Regions from separate parts of the Homo sapiens genome. Here region 2 is linked to region 1. Evidence: promoter capture Hi-C in 16 types of primary human blood cells and fetal thymus (Javierre and others, 2016). All regions are on one chromosome and are shown on one strand. Each heading gives the region's core, a stretch centred on a gene start or on the middle of the fragment in contact. The rest is flanking DNA. Distances are from core to core; before and after follow the strand shown. Region 1 holds the start of SUCLG2 (succinate-CoA ligase GDP-forming subunit beta). Region 2 overlaps TAFA1 (TAFA chemokine like family member 1).

Region 1 (2,700 bases), core at 54-2,553:
ATTAGACAAAACTGCCATTCCTTTTGCTACCTCACTATACTGTCAAGCACCTATTAAGAATATTACAGTAGTAAGTATTAGCACCTTTTAAATTTACATTAACAATAACAGAGAAATGGGGAGGCAGGAAATGAAAGGAGAGGGGTAAAAATAGCTCACAGATGTCATAACCAAAGTTTAGAGGAACTCAAAAAATCATTAATCACTATTTTTTAAATTTTCTAAAAAACTATACTATGCACATCCTGGTTAAAATTGTATGAGTGATAATTTGCCTCTCATCAATTAAAAATGGGGAAATAGGCAAGGTCATTAACTCTGCTGTGGCTGAATCCCAGACTGTGCTTTCTTTAAAAGGGAAGAGAGATAGTCTACGGAGACTAACCAGTTCAGTGGTTGAGTGATTTCTACAAGAGTCATCACCAACTCAAAACTTTCCTGAAGTCCTTCTGACTATTTTAACGCTTGCCATCTGCAGAAGGTAAAAATCTGCTAGAGGCCAAGTTCCAATCGCTATCCAGCCCACCACTGACCCTCTTTGATTTCATTCTCCATCAACAAGGAGGACATGGACAGGGTCAATGGTCTAATGCGTTTTAGTGACAGCCCTGATTTTTCATTGGAAAGAGGAGAAAGATCGTTTCCCATTTTTCTCCTTGACCCACGGATTTGACCAACTCAGGCACATTAAAAGTCTGCAAAAGCAGGTAGCCTGCAGGAAGTTCACCCTAGGGGGTGAGTTCCTAGTTGGGCTGAAACGGGTTTCCAGGCATGTTTATCACGTGGTCTAAACGTGCTCAGGGTTAGTGCCAGAAGTTTGAAAAGCAGAATTAGTAGAGCTGACAATAAAACCTCAGGGCTCCAAAACCCGGTCCAAGAAACTTTTCTTAAACTTGCGTCCAGCGCCTGCTTCAGCGCCTTCGCCATGAGTCTGCGCGGGCAGACAGCGGAGACTCTAGTGCGTTGGGTCGCTCATACCCCGAGGCACCCGGGGCTGCCGCCGCGCCGCCCCTGCCCCACACTGGAGCGGGGTTCCCTGCTGCGCCTGGACCCGGCGCCGCGTCACCTCCCGAAGTGGGGCGCCCGAGGGGCCGCGCAGGGGGTCAGGCGGAGACCAAGAGTAGCAGGGGGCGAGGGAAGCCCGGGCAGGCCGGCGCCGCTGCTGGCGCCCGCAGCTCCTGCCCCCACGCTCACCTGGGACCCGGCCGCCAGGAAGCGGGGCCGCAGCGCTAGGGCTCGCAGAAGCTTCCCGGCCTGCGCTGCTACGGGGGACGCCATCTTAAACAGGAAACTCGGCACGGGGCAGTAGGGCGGGCGCGGGCAGGGGAAGGAGGCGGAGGAGGAGCAGCGGGAGGAGGGGTCAGAGGAGAAGCGGGCGCGGGGAGGAAAAGGAGGAGGAGGCAGAGGCGGTCTGGGCCGGGCCGGGCCTGACCCCTGCGTCCCGGGGGCACAGGCGTTCTTAAGGCTGCAGAGCCCTGGGTCCCCCACCCGGCCCCGGTTCACTTTGAGCGGTCCCAAGGCCTGAGGGCCTACTGTCCAGTCCCCAGGTTATCGTCCTGAGCAAAGACAGACCCCGAGCCCTGCGGTCTTGGGGCTCAAACAGTCCCTGGATGGCCAAACAAGCAAATATTCGCCATGGCAGTGGGTGCTGGAAGGGTGGCTCACGGAGCTGACGCCCTCCGCAGAGAACCGTGGTCTAGTCCTGCGGTCACGAGGCCTATCTGGGACAGTGGTGTTTGAGCTGAGACTTTAACGAATAGAGACAGGTGAGGTTCCTGCAGCCCAGGGCTTCAGGTGAGTCAAGGAGAGGCCATTGGAGGCTCTCCATCCCTTAAGGAGTTGTGGGTGTTTTGTTTTGTTCTATCCTTAACCTAAAATCAATGTAAAGCTGAGAGATGAAGCCGGGTGGGTCGGTTGGGGACTTGGAGAACTTCTCTGTCTAGCTAAATGATTGTAAATGCACCAATCAGCGCTCTGTGTCTAGCTAAAGGTTTGTAAATACACCAGCCAGCCCTCTGTGTCTAGCTAATCAGGTGGGGACTTGGAGAACTTTTCTGTTAGCTAAAGGATTGTAAATGCACCAATCAGTGCTCTGTGTCTGGCTAAAGGTTTGTAAACACACCAATCGGCACTCTGTAAAAACGCACCAATCAGCGCTCTGTGTCTAGCTAAACGTTTGTAAATGCACCAATCAGCACTCTTTAAAAAGGGACCAATCAGCACTCTGTAAAATGGACCAATTGGCACTCTGTAAAATGGACCAATCAGCAGGATGAGGGTGGGGCCAAATAAGGGAATAAAAGCTGGACACCGGCGCCAGTAGTGGCCCCTAGTTGGGGTCTCCTTCCAGGTTGTGGTTGCTTTGTGCTTTTGCTTTTTGCAGTAGCTCTTGCTGCTGTTCACTGTTTGGGTCCGCACTATCCTTATGAGCTATAACACTCACCACAAAGGTTTGCAGTTTCACTCCTGAGGTCAGGGAGACTGCGAACCCACTGGGAGGAATGAACAACTCCGTATGCCCCACCTTCGAGGGCTGTAACACTCACTGCAAAGGTCTGCAGCTTCATTCGTGAAGTCAGCGAGACCACGAACCCACAGGCAGGAACAAACAACTCCGGACGGGCCACCTTTAAGAGCTGTAACACTCACTGTGAAGTCTGCGGCTTCACTCCTGAAGTCAGCGAGACCACGAACCCACCG
Region 2 (2,700 bases), core at 185-2,684, 400 kb after region 1:
AGGCTGAAGTGTAGTGATGCAATCATAGCTCACTGCAGCCTTGAACTTCCGGGCTCAAGCCATCCTCCTGCCTCAGCCTCCCAAGTAGCTCAGACTATAAGCAAGCACCATCTCACTTGGCTAATTTTTAAATTTTTTTGTAGAGATGAGGTCTTACTATATTGCCCAGGCTGATCTTGAACTTCCAGCCTCAAGTGATCCTCCTACCTTGGCTTCTCAAAGCACTGGGATTACAAGCATGAGCCACCATGACTGACCTACTTTTACATTTTAAAAAGTATCAAAATAGCCATCAGAGAAATCACAAGTTTTCTGGACTCCCCTTCACAGATATGAAGTTTTAATTTTTATGTGCACTAGCAATTGGCAAACTATGTTGCTATAGTTTGGATGCTTGTCCCTTCCAAATTTCACATTGAAATGTGATCCCCAGTGTTGGAAGATGAGGCCTAGTGGGAGGGGCTTGGGTCATGGAGATGGACCTCTTGTGAGTAGATGAATGTCTTCCCTTTGGGAGCCAGGGGTCAGGGGAGTAGGGAGGGTAGTGAGTGAGTTCCCACTCTATTAGTTCCCACCATAGCTGGCTGTTAAAAGGAGCCTGGCACCTCCCCTCCTCTCTCTCCATGTGATCTGTTCACTCCAGCTCCCCTTCACCTTCTGTTGTGAGTGGAAGCAGCCTGAGGCCCTTATTAGATGCCCAATCTTCTAGGCAACATAACTACAAGCCAAATAAACCTTTTTTCTTTATAAATTACCCAGCCTTAGCTATTCCTTTATAGCAATACAAAATAGACTAAGAAGACATGTGGCCTGTGGACCAAATCTGATGTGCTGTTTTTGTGAATAAAGTTTTCTTGAGACACAGGTACACTCATTCATTACATATTGTCCATGGCTGCTTTCACACTACAACAGCAGAGGTGAATAGTCATAGCACATACTGTATGGCCTGCAAGGCCTAAACTGTTTACTATCTGGTGCTTTACAGGCAAAGCTTTGCCAACCTCTGAGTTTAATTGATTGGGGTTAATATTATTCATTCATTTGTTTATTCATCTATTTAACAGACAGTTAACAAGTAGCTACCATTTGCCAGACACTATTTTAAGATCTAAGGTTATAGCACTAGTTACATTATTAGACAAGTTTATGATCCTCAATTTCTTAATCTAGTACTACGTATGTTTGTCTTTTATTTATTTGGGGTAGACTATGCTCTGAAGTTTTTATAATGAGATATGTACCTCTATGCCTTGGTTTAGGGTCTCCCACAAGCAGACCTTCAGGCAGTTGTTTTGGTGGAGGCATCTTATTTGGATGGTAAGAAAACATGAACAGGAGTGGGGAAGTATGAAAGGAAAGGGAAGGCAGTCAAAAAAGAGTTAATTACCAAGCCACCTGCCATAGTGCGTGATAGAAACTTAATCCCCTGAAGAAACTCTGGGAAATCTGTAAAGCACACAACTCAGAAACACCTCACCTAAGGGCTGAGGAGCAGAGGAATTTATAATCCAACTCTTAAGTGTCATCGGTAGATACTCATGTGTGTGTATGTATGCGGGGGGCAAGAGGTGGGATGGTTTGATTCTTTGTTTGCCTTGTATGGTGAATGCCTCCATATCAATAAACTCCATTACCCAGCACTATATTTTGCTCCCTTCCCCTACCCCAAGGGTACAGAACTCTCAAAGTTCACTGCCACACCTGTTTTCCTAGTTTCGGTAGCTACCTATTAACCAGAACTTGAAACACAGTTATTAAATAATTCTTTACTTCTTGAAGCAGAGTAAGTGCTTCCTTACTCAAGCCATATTAGAACGTGGGGACAGATCTTGAGGAAGGCAAGTATCATCTCCCAAGGCTGCCTCCTAGGTGAAGCTTCTGCTTGGTCTCCCAGCAAGGAAAGGATGCTATATTCTAAGAATAAGATGTAGATAACTTCTGAAGTCTCAGAGGGTTAAGGAGAATCTGAGAGTTCAAGAGTCTGGAGTGCATTTACACAGATGTCCCTTTCCCTGGACATATCTCAGGGTTTTCCATCTTCTTTATCTATGCTCTGCCTTAGAATGTTGGCTGGGGCTGTTGCTTCAACACTCTAGACAGTTCTCTCACATCAGGTCCTAGCCCCGATTTTCAGCCTGATCTTTTCTCTGCCTGCAGAAGATGAGAGTCTCTTTAAATGATGCCGGAGAGGCCTCTGGCTTTCCATACTGAACCCTGGGTTGGTGTTCAGCTCACTTGAGCCTGTCATTTTCTTCTTTCAGCTCATTGATGGTACTTGGTCCAACTATCCAATTCCATAATCTTTCCAATGGCCAATGCCACCCTATCTCTCAAGTGCTAGAGAAATTGCATAAGCTAGTGCATCCTCTTCCAGCTGTGCCCCATCCCAATTCAATCTTAGGTAAGAGTCTCAGCAGTTATGATTTCATAGCACACCATTCCACTCGTGACTAGCAATGGTAATTTTGTTGCCATTTTGCTAGTTTCTAGCTGCAAAGACCAATTCTAGAGATCTGTTTCCTAGGACCACTTTGAGTTCCAACCTGAGTTCTCAGGTTTTAGTACTGAAAGTCCCACATCCTGAAAAGCTACAAGTTCTAGGCAAATTTGAAATGCTTTTCCTGGGACTGTCTTGGTTTTAAAATTGCAAGTCCCATGTCCCAGGAACACCCTCTGTCCTTACCAAACCAGATGGGT

The links. The method cuts DNA at HindIII sites, captures the fragments that hold promoters and counts their contacts. A CHiCAGO score of 5 or more calls a contact.
Region 2: a contact is called between a fragment that was not itself captured here and the fragment with the promoter of SUCLG2 in region 1, in 2 of 17 cell types (non-activated CD4 T cells and total CD8 T cells). The highest score is 6.1, in non-activated CD4 T cells.

What each region holds. Positions count from the first base shown.
Region 1 is chr3:67,653,309-67,656,008 of GRCh38, forward strand. It overlaps SUCLG2 (succinate-CoA ligase GDP-forming subunit beta), which reads right to left and starts at 1,304. Exons shown (of 11, transcript NM_003848.4): 1 at 1,195-1,304. The coding sequence starts at 1,278. SUCLG2-DT (SUCLG2 divergent transcript) reads left to right here and starts at 1,389. Exons shown (of 7, transcript NR_109992.1): 1 at 1,389-1,794. RefSeq lists a silencer at 916-1,595 and an enhancer at 1,111-1,610. The HindIII fragment of the contact is 5,512 bases long and covers 1,244-2,700 here.
Region 2 is chr3:68,053,747-68,056,446 of GRCh38, forward strand. All of the region lies in intron 2 of TAFA1 (TAFA chemokine like family member 1), which reads left to right. Among named protein-coding and RNA genes, the nearest start is that of TAFA1, 51 kb to the left of the region's middle. The HindIII fragment of the contact is 884 bases long and covers 993-1,876 here.